Linked DNA regions of Homo sapiens: region 2 is linked to region 1. Evidence: promoter capture Hi-C in human tissues and cell types (Jung and others, 2019). All regions are on one chromosome and are shown on one strand. Each heading gives the region's core, a stretch centred on a gene start or on the middle of the fragment in contact. The rest is flanking DNA. Distances are from core to core; before and after follow the strand shown. Region 1 holds the start of CPA2 (carboxypeptidase A2). Region 2 overlaps CEP41 (centrosomal protein 41).

Region 1 (5,325 bases), core at 933-3,432:
GGAGGTGGCTACCTATCCCTCCTTTAACACGGGCTGGAACTTCCTTTCCCCACCTTCTCCTTCTATATCCAGTCATGCACCAATTACTCACCACAGGCTTGTGTTTCTTCCACTGAAATCTCTCTTCAAGGCCATCTCAGACATTTCCTCTGCCATCCACAAGTCCAGATGTAGCATCCTAAATCTCGGTTTCCCCAAGAGGCTCATATTTGGCTCCCTGCTTAGAGGATCTCTGCCAGGCACCATCCTGCAAGGTTCACCATTTTCAGCATTGCCCTCATCAATCAGTTACCTGCTTAGAAACCTTCCAAGGCTCTCCATATCATCTGGTGTGTACTCCTCTGTTTGGATTGTGAGATCCTTTGCCCTCTAGCCCACCTTCTGGTATTTTACCTTCCCCACCACTCCCAGGTTCAAGTCTCTGCTCTGCTAGGCTAAGTTTCCTCCTTAACCCAGCTGTGTATCATGTGCTCTCCCCTGGTTCCCTGTCTAGCTTATATTTTCTTACCACCAGAAATCCAGGCTCTTTTCACATTTGCCTTGGCACAAAGGCTCAGCTCAAACTCCATTTTTTTTTTTTTTTTTTTGAGACGGAGTCTCACTCTGTTGCCTAGGCTGGAGCGCAGTGGTGCCATCTGGGCTCACTGCAAGCTCTGCCTCCCGGGTTCACACCATTCTCCTGCCTCAGCCTCCTGAGTAGCTGGGACTACAGGCTCCCGCCACCACACCCGGCTAACTTTTTGTATTTTTAGTAGAGACGGAGTTTCACCATGCTAGCCAGGATGGTCTCGATCTCCTGACCTCGTGATCCACCTGCCTTGGCCTCCCAAAGTGCTGGGATTACAGGCGTGAGCCACTGAGCCCAGCCTGAAACTTGATTTTTTCCAGGAAGCTTTTATTGATTCTCCAAGTACATACTTCCAGTTTATTGAACTACTGTTTATTTGATAGGTGCTGGAGACATGAGGATGAATTATGGCCTCTGCCTTTTGGTTTCTGTCTTCTCTCTGACTCCCAGGAGAATGAAAAACCAAGTTAATCCAGTCATTCTTAAAATCAGAAACACTGTGTATATACCTTTCCCCTTAAAGCAGATATTTGAGAATGCAAACCCAGAGATTTAAAGTGTGTGCTGATAAATTTGACACACAAAGGACAGACGAAAATTTCCTTGCTGCTTGTTGTGGTTGAGGCTTTCTAGGCTTAATATAACGTGTATGAACAACTAAAATTAAATAAACTATGGTTTCTAAAAATAAGCAGTTATATTTTCTTCTTAAGCAATGAAGAACAAAGTCAGATTAATGTAGATCTATGTTTATGAACAAGAAAAGATCACCTTTGTTTAAAGAACAGTATACGTGATATGGTCTAATCTTTGTTTAAGAAAAAAACTCGAAAGCAGAGAAAGAAATTTGGAAAGACATATGCCAAATGGTTTTCTTTGGATGGAAGAATTATTGATGGTTAAAGAAAACACTTTCTTTTAATTCACACTTTTTATAACAAGCAACTTCATTGTTGCTTGTTATAGGAAATGTCATCAGAAAGACATTTTCATTTTGGGAAAAAGCACAGAAAGAGGGATATCAATTTGGTGCAAATGCAGATGGATCACTTTCGAGAAAGTGCAAAATTGAATATTAAAAGGCCTTCTGTTTTGTTTTAATGTAGAGTGAGGATTGGAATGGGCCACATCTACAGGGACACTCAGCAGATGTGGACTGAGTGACTGCAGTGTTTCAAGGTAAACATTATAAAAATAAACAAATGAGCAAACTAATGGAATGTGATAGACAGGATGCCTGAGTAATTACTATAAATGCTCTGGCCTTTTTTTTGTGTGTGTGTCAGAGACCCAGAAAAGACTTTAACCTCTAGGTCTATTAATCTGGCTTCTATCACAGGGTAGCTAGTGGCGTTTTATGGTCTCAATCATAACTATATTGCCCTTGGTATGCTCTAGCAATTTTGTTCTCTTTCCATCAAAGTTTGTTATCTTATCCTAGGAATGGAACATGTACACATTGGTGATATCACACAGGTGGATGTCTACAACCTTGAGAATTTCACATGCAGGTGGGAATTTTCCCATGTGGGAATTCACGTGAGTTCTCAGAAGGCCAGCAGATCACCCTCAGCTGCCATCCCTACAAATAAAGTTCAGGAAGGACTCTGAATTCTGGACTCCAGGAAAACCCATGGCCATGAGGTTGATCCTGTTTTTTGGTGCCCTTTTTGGGCATATCTACTGTCTAGAAACATTTGTGGGGTAAGTTATGCTTTCTGGTGCTTCTTTGAATTTTACTTACCTGATTGATGGAGGCTTTGATTGTTACAGAGTAAATGGGTATAAGTGTTCAGTGTTTTCAGAGAAGTTCTCTTAGATTTGGGGATAAGTCAATAGTGTGAAAAAAAGGAGTGGATGATCAAAAAGGAGGTGAATGACATTTAAAGGAAAAGACAAAAGTGAAAACTGAACACACATAACCCTATTTCTCTCTGTCCTTACTCATTTTTCCCTCCAGTGATCAGACTGTAGGGATGATAGACATCAGGGAAAATACAGCTGTGTGGCCATTTGTTCCAGGCAACTCAGCGGGTGTCAATGCTACTCTCCCACCTCCTCCTGCTCTTCTGGGCTTTACCATCCACGTTAGCCCTTGTGCCCTAACCCCCGATCTTTAGATTCAGCACCTAGGTGGTGGAACCTCATGAAGTAGAAAGGCCAGGGCTATAGATTTCAGCTCAACTCCTCCTCTCCTGGCTTTGGAGGACTCATCTTTGCTCCAAAGTACTTTGCTTCATGATTCTATGAAGGGTTTCAGGCAGCATTTTTTGAAGAGTGGTCCAGGGAGCTAAGAAAGCAATCAAATAAGTTTGGTCCCAAAAAGCCACTGGTCAAATAAATGTGGGAATCAGAGGATTAAACAAACTATAGGATTTCTAGGAGCCTTGGCTAAATCAGTGTGCATTATAAATCTATAAGAGGGGATCTAGGTTGCAGCATGTACTCTTTTTTTTAATCATAAACTACCTACTGCTCCCAGCTTGCCCTTTCTTTCTTTCTCTTTCTCTTTCTTTCTTTCTTTCTCTTTCTTTCTTTCTTTCTTTCTTTCTTTCTTTCTTTCTTTCTTTCTTTCTTTCTTTCTTTCACTGAGTAACTCAAAGAACTACTATTCTTTAGAACACACACCAGGAAATATGACCCTGTTGTATTACTTTTCTCAGTGCCTTCCCATTTTAAAGGAGGACTCCTGGGAGTCCATGCATTAACCGAAAATAATGAGACTTAAATGGAAGAATTTTCAGACCATTTGTGGCAGGTGAGCCTCGAAGAGCTCACATTCCATCACTTCTGTATTCCACTGGAGTTCGTAGGAAATTGCATGGAGCTTGGTTTCAGAAGACCCATATTCTGGTCCCTGTACATGGCTCATTGTATTGATTCCTTCCCCACTGCACAAACAGTTGGGGCAGTGACTTAGGAAGTCTGCCTACGTGGAGAAAGGCTAGAAGGGGAAACTCTGTCACCAAGGGAACTCTTCCTAAAGAGATGTGCTTGATTGTTTTGAGATTTCTCTTTCCTGTTCATCCTTCATTCCCTATTAAGGGGGTGTGTGTGTGTGTGTGTGTGTGTGTGTGTGTGTGTGTGTTTGTAAAGAGAGGCACGGCACATAATTTGTCAGGGTCCCAACTATCTCTGGCCATGCCCCATGTTTGGGCCCCATGAATGGGGTCTGGGGATGGAACCTTGATACATTTTCAGTTGACAAAATCAAAGAACAAACAAAACCCCCAAAACCATTAAAAACAAAATCTTAGGACTACCCACATATGAATTGTTTCCTCTTACAAGCACCAAATTATTCCACTTTTTAAAAACTTACTTCTGAACAACAGGAACAGGCAAGTATTAAAAGCTATAACACTCCACAAGCAGCAGGTTTTATTTGACTCATTAGCTATGGGAAAGGTAACTTTAATGGCAGGCTTCCTGCTAGGAGCAGGTACACCTATTCATTATTATTTAGATAACATTTCCTGGGAGGAAATAACGCCATTCTATCACCTTCTCATTCTGGCGATGTGGGTTTAGTATACTATTTATTAGTTTCTGGATTGTCACAGAGATTATTGACTGTTGCATTAATCTGTTATACGCAGAGACTAACAGGTGCAGAAAGCAACAGGAAACAGTGTCCAGGTTTTGCTTTTAAGGTCATATTTGTGGTTAATTTTCTTTAGAGACCAAGTTCTTGAGATTGTACCAAGCAATGAAGAACAAATTAAAAATCTGCTACAATTGGAGGCTCAAGAACATCTCCAGGTATTTGATCTAGTGGGAGTTGCTGTTCCCAGAATGAATACAGTTAAACATGATTGAGCTCTATTTTCGACTGTATTCTGACTCCCATGACATAGTGTGAAATGCTAACTCATGCAGCTGGGGTTCTGAAAACCTGGGCTCTAGTCCCAACTACAGGACATTGGGCAAGCCACCTACCTTCCCTGTGTCTCATTTTCTCACTCAGAGTAATGGCGATAAATATGCCGTTCTTCTATCTCTCAGGTTTATTGTAAGAATGAGAAGAGATATCAAATGTGAAAGTTACTTTCAAAAATTAAACACCTTTAGTGCATATTTCCCTTATAAAATAATTTATAGCATTTATATCCCATTATTAAATGAATTGGATTGCTAGAATCCCAGCTTAAAAAAACTGCCATCGTTTTAATAATCTTTTCCTTCTGCCAGTTTTAATATCTAGCCATAGGGGCAGGGGAAACAATATAATGGATTTGCTGACACATGGATATTTAAAAGCCCTTGTTGCAATATCATAGTGATTCCACAATGATTCCAAAACTTGTGGGCTCAAGATAAAGTGGATGCAAATTGATTCCTAGAAATCTATCAGTGCTGAACTGTCCATTCCCCAGAACAGCCCATTCATTTCCTTGGCTTGGACTTTTATCCCTTTCAGCTTGATTTTTGGAAATCACCCACCACCCCAGGGGAGACAGCCCACGTCCGAGTTCCCTTCGTCAACGTCCAGGCAGTCAAAGTGTTCTTGGAGTCCCAGGGAATTGCCTATTCCATCATGATTGAAGACGTGCAGGTAATTATGCCATGGACTCGCCTTCCTGCAGCTTGCTGGGCCACATGAACGTCAGCTCAGTTCCATCTTCTTTTATGCTTGAGTACTCTCTGCAGGGAAGGGACCTGTGGGTGCCACTAGGACCTTCCAGCAGTCTGGGCTCCCCTTGCAAGGTGGGTAGGAGGGCACTGTCTCTCTCTCTTTTGCATTTGGCACATGCAGA
Region 2 (5,325 bases), core at 970-3,469, 150 kb after region 1:
GTCTCATAAACCAAGACTCCTAGCAACAAAGGAAAGGATTAAAAGTATTTAAGATTATTTACCTGGTGTAACTAATCACTTTCATGAATTTTCCAAAAACCAGCACAGACCTTAAGACTCAGAGTCGGGAAATGATACTACTTTAAAAACTAGCCTTCTGTAAATATATCAAGGCTTTTTAAAAATAGGGAATTAAACTTCTCTGTTCTAAAATGTCTTAAAGAGAGCAATTTGGCTAATAACAGACCATTACTTCTAGGAAATGCTTAGAGATGCTGCTTCTGGATACAACAAGGTAACAAACCTATATGCAGTGGAACTTCTAAAACCTGCCGGGATGCAGACCCAAATAGGCCGAGCTGAGGCTTTACAAAGTACAACCAAATAACTACAGTGTTCCTTTTGATTGCCACCAACTTGCCCACCAAAAGTCGTTTATGCAAATCAAAACAACAATAAATCAGCAAATGGAAACAGCCAACAGCTTTCAAGTAGTTTGCACTGTGACATTTATCCACTGATATTCTTTTGGTATGGTTACAAGGTTTAAAATGCTTCTAAGCATAAAATGTATACTTTAAAATCTCCTTTAACTAAACAAAGATTAATTTAAACAAACAAAAAAAAGACTGCTTTATTCTAAAGATTGGGATTTCTACTGTCTTCTGCACAAGCACTAGCAGCCCCCTACATATTTGAACCTGAACTCCACGTACCTGGTTCTGGTTTAGAAGGACAGCCGTCAGTAGGACTTTTTGACATGATTACTCAGAGATAAAAGATCAAACTAGATGTTCTACAGTAAGTTTAAATTTTTATAAAAAGGATGACTTGGAAGGCTCTGTCAGTCTGTCCTCGCAAGAGCGAACAGAGCTTTAAGAATGGAGCTTCTGCTATGTGTCTTCTCCCAAACTCTGTGTTGAAGACAATCCTAGTTTCAGATATGTTATCAAGGTGTGCTTCTCCAGTAAGTCTAGGTTCTAAGTCTGTCTCTCTCGAGTTACTGGAAGGACAGAGACCTGACTATCTAGGATGTTTCACACTGGGTCCAACTAGTGTCATCTAACCACCAGAAACCAAGAATGGGCTTTGTAAATTGTCAATAGACATAGAGTGTCTATTTTCCCCAGGTAGAGTTGAAAGAATATTCAGATTACAAAGGATTTCTGCATTTTCAGGGTTCTGTTGAAATGCATTATTAGCAAAGGGAAGTTGGGTTCACAGTGGAAGACAAATCAAAGGAAGTAACAGAACAAGGTTTGTGGTTTCACAGAAAGAAATGGCATCTAAGGTAATCTGAGTAAAGTGATGGGTCTAGGGTATCAAGAAACAAGGGAATATTCTCCTCCCTTTCAACCCCAAATAATACTTACAACAGAAAATGGGGAAAGAGAAGGAAATATCTTCTAAAATGTAGATGCCAAACCAGAATCTAAAGCAATTCTGTCAGGGAATCAGCACAAAGTGTGTGAAATGGGGTAACAGGAATCTCCTGCTCTACTAAAAGGAAGCCCTCCACTCCTACAGAGGGAAAGTGAAGCAAGCATTTTTCAAGGTTCTGTTCCAAGGGTATTGTTCTGGGAGATCACCTCCACGTAAGGTTTAGATATTAAAGAAACCACATCGTACTTTGAAGAAATGTTTTAAGTGAGGTTATGGCAACCTGGGCAGAGTGGGACATTTTTATGGGACAAATTTCTAGTGAGGACATGTGAACTCACACTCAGCTGCAAATGGATGAGAGGTGACAGAGACGACAAACCCAAAAAGAAGCAGGCCAGCTGGATTCTGCCTGTCTTGGATGAGTCAAGGATGGCAACAATGAAGTGTAGGTGAGTAAATGCGATCTTTCTCCAGAGTTTAAAAGTATATATTTTATATAGATATTTAAAATACATATACTTATGTAATATAAAATGTTCAGGAAGAAAAGAGAAGGATACTGTGGCATTACATATTTTTAAGAAGTTTGTAGCATTAGCCCTTATAGCTGAACATGGCAAATGAAAACACAGCATAAAGCAGCTCCTGAGTCCACATCTATTGGTTGGGGTTTCCCAATATTGCAGCAATTCAAATGGAACTTTGATTTCAAATAAAAGGTCTGCTGTGTAAAAGAAGAAAATGTTCTGATGTATTCTGGATGTGCAATTTTATCTTCCAAGAAGATGTACATTACCAGAGCCAAGTCCTGAACTATGATTAATCAGAGTACCTCTTTACCACCATTAACTAAATATCCCCTAGCACTGGGTTCTCTTATTCAAGATATGAGCAAATCCATCTTAGAAAATAGATGTTTCTACTTCTTCCTTAATTCTGGCCTTGAAGTATACACTTTACATCAGTTTTGGATGCAGACTGAAAAATTATGATTTTGTGCAAGGGCAATGCACTCAATGACTGGTAACATATCTTTGCAGATAAGTTTTTTAAAAGGATGTAGATGAAATATGATTTTTAATTAAAAGAAAACAGACTGCAATGAATTGATAATGCATAACACTAAGTTCTCACGTCCCTGTCTTCCATGAATACTCTCATTTATACACACAAGAATGTTCTGAAGGAAGATATTATTACCCCCTATCTCAAATAGAGACAAAATAAGACAGAAAAGATGAAATATCTTGAAGAAGGGCATGAAGACTGCAGTACAATGACACTAGAAGCTTAAGCAGAGCTCATTCCACCAGATCTGACTCTGCAGGCCAACACTAATGTCTCCTATGGGATGGAAATAGGGCAGAATTTAGGCCTACAGGCCACAATCTGAGAAGCAGCCCAGTACAGCACCCAGGATCTCCCACAGCCCTTGAGGCACCTGCTAGGCTTATCGGACCATCCATAGCTCTCTGTGCCTGTCACCTGTGGAACACAATTGTTAGTTAAGAACCAATTTATAGAACAACTATAGACTTCCACTCTCCCAAACCATCAAGAGTGTTACTTACTTTTCTTAATCTCTTCGAGCTTCTCAGTATATTTAGTCATACTGTTACCTAAAAAGAAAATAAGGGGTTTTAGATATACTTTAAATGGAAGCAAATGAGTAACACTGTGGAAACAGAATGGAGGAAAAGTATCCCCTAAGCTTTCCTATCCTGTTCTTAGGGGATTCTGGACAGCAGCAAACAGGCCACACACAGTAAAATCTTTTGGATAATACAGCGTTATTAAAAGTTGCAGAGCCGAGGGAAATGTTTTGGTAGAATGTGTTTAAGCTGGGATGCATACCCCCAAAACATTGACAAGTTCCAGGAGATACAGATGATCATTTTCTATCAGTTTGTTTTTCAAGTCTAGGCTTTCCTCCTCCTTTTATCTCCCCTGCCCCCGCTGACGATCTTTTTGTGGGGAAGATACACAGAAGAGGAGCAAAAAGGAGGCAGTGTTCTTTGAGTGTCTAAAATGTGCCTTTGTGGTTACCCAAGCAACTCTCTCCTCTCGGCTTTGTCTTCACAGTTTCCTTCTCTTTCCTGAACTTACTCTTCTACCGTTCATGCTCACGTTGCAGTCTGAACTAGACTACACAGTCTACACACTAGTATTCACCATAGATTTGATGTGCTGAGAAATAACAGCAGATTCTTGAAACTGCAGAGAGGCCCCAGCCCTCATGTTTTATAGTATGTTTCTATAATACTAGTACTGGCCAAGGTGGTTTGGAGGTTTTCAGACTTAAAAAACTCAGCCAGGAACCTTCTGGTTTCCAACTCAATTCTAGCTGTCAAGCCAGGGGCTATTATATTTTACTGGGTATGCTTCGATTTGATTCAATTCAACGCAGGAAGCTCTTTCTGTCACCTAAAAGGTATGGCAAAAGGAAAACATTCAAAATAATTTCTCATTTCTAAAACTGTGCTCCTAACTTTTTAAGCCTGGAGAGGATCTAGTCAGATGCAGCCCCAACATCAGATAAAAGAAATGCTTTCAATTAATAGTAGCATGAACTGACATTTTCAAGGACTATTCTGAACTTTTCTTCATGTTTGGGTCAGAAGCAGAAAAAGAAAATCCTTGCTCTGAAACCCAAAATACATTTTCAAAAAAACAACTTATTTCATTGGCTATTATTAAATCTTTACCATGAATTCATCATGGAATAAAAATCCACCATTGTTTTCTTTTCTTTTCTTTTCTTTTTTTTGGTGTTAAGACATACACTCTCTGTATCCAGGACCAGAAAGGAGGATTCAGAGCAGGCCTGGACCTGGAAGTTCCAAGAGAAATGAAGGCAGTCAGGGCTGCCAGGAAGGCCTAAGCCTTCTCAAGAGAGACACTGAATACCTCTTAGAAGAGGCCCAAATATCACCAAGATTAGAACCAAATACAGTCTTTCCTAGGTTCTTCAAACTGCAATTGACCCGAGATGTGACCAGATCTTCAGAGCAGAAGCCACAATTTCTTCCTGGACACACATCTCTCCTGCCCACTGCAACTCTGAACTCAGGCGTGGACTTGCCTGGTCAATACAATGGCGGAAGAAGACGGCAAATCAGTATGCTGTTCAGCTTCCCAAGTCTCATTCTTAAAATATTTTACCCAGTAGCTTTAGGTTATATGTCCCTGAGTCACCCACAGTTGCATGTTATTGACGTGGCAGGTAGTTTCTTTCGGCTAGGGAAGCTTTAGGCAATCTAGTCAGAAAATGAGGGACAAAAAGGAACACCTGATTTGTCTGGTGGCATGGCAAGTTAGTAACTAAGCCAGGATTCGCATTTCCAACCTCCTGAAAAACACATCTTTTTTTGTTGTGTTGTTGTAAAAAAACACAATTAATCATGAGGTAAATTTGTAGGAAATGCTACTTCCTTAATAGTGAGAGGTGGGGATCATCTTGTGTTGTAAATTCCCTGAAGAATGGAAAACACTAGCCAACCTTATTTATCCAGTCTTTATTATTGAAACACTGCATTTCCAAACCACAACCTTATTTATCCAGTCTTTATTATTGAAACACTGCATTTCCAAACCACAACCTTATTTATCCAGTCTTTATTATTGAAACACTGCATTTCCAAACCACAGTGGTTTCTACTAACAAAGTGTCTACACTTCATTTCTCCATTAATTACAAACATTTCAGGGTAATTACACTTAACACTTTATTTTGTATCAGCTGACCCTCACCACAATGCAGGGAGGTAGGCCATCATGCCCTCTATTTGTTTTCCCCCTAAAGGAGAAGGCTGAGAAACAAGTTTTTTGCAATTATACAAATATTTGGTGAAATTCAGACCAAATCTGAGAGGACTACTGATGAGTTCTTTTCACTATAGACATTCATTCTATCCAAGAATGGGGAAAAAAGGAGAATGGAGG

What was found. The method cuts DNA at HindIII sites, captures the fragments that hold promoters and counts their contacts. A contact is called where the count stands out against the background at its distance.
Region 2: a contact is called between a fragment that was not itself captured here and the fragment with the promoter of CPA2 in region 1, in 1 of the 25 tissues and cell types used here (dorsolateral prefrontal cortex).

The regions. Positions count from the first base shown.
Region 1 is chr7:130,264,681-130,270,005 of GRCh38, forward strand. It overlaps CPA2 (carboxypeptidase A2), which reads left to right and starts at 2,183. Exons shown (of 11, transcript NM_001869.3): 1 at 2,183-2,272; 2 at 4,249-4,330; 3 at 4,989-5,123. The coding sequence starts at 2,202. The HindIII fragment of the contact is 6,290 bases long and covers 401-5,325 here.
Region 2 is chr7:130,413,965-130,419,289 of GRCh38, forward strand. It overlaps CEP41 (centrosomal protein 41), which reads right to left. Exons shown (of 11, transcript NM_018718.3): 3 at 2,955-3,002. Among named protein-coding and RNA genes, the nearest start is that of CEP41, 24 kb to the right of the region's middle. The HindIII fragment of the contact is 3,284 bases long and covers 578-3,861 here.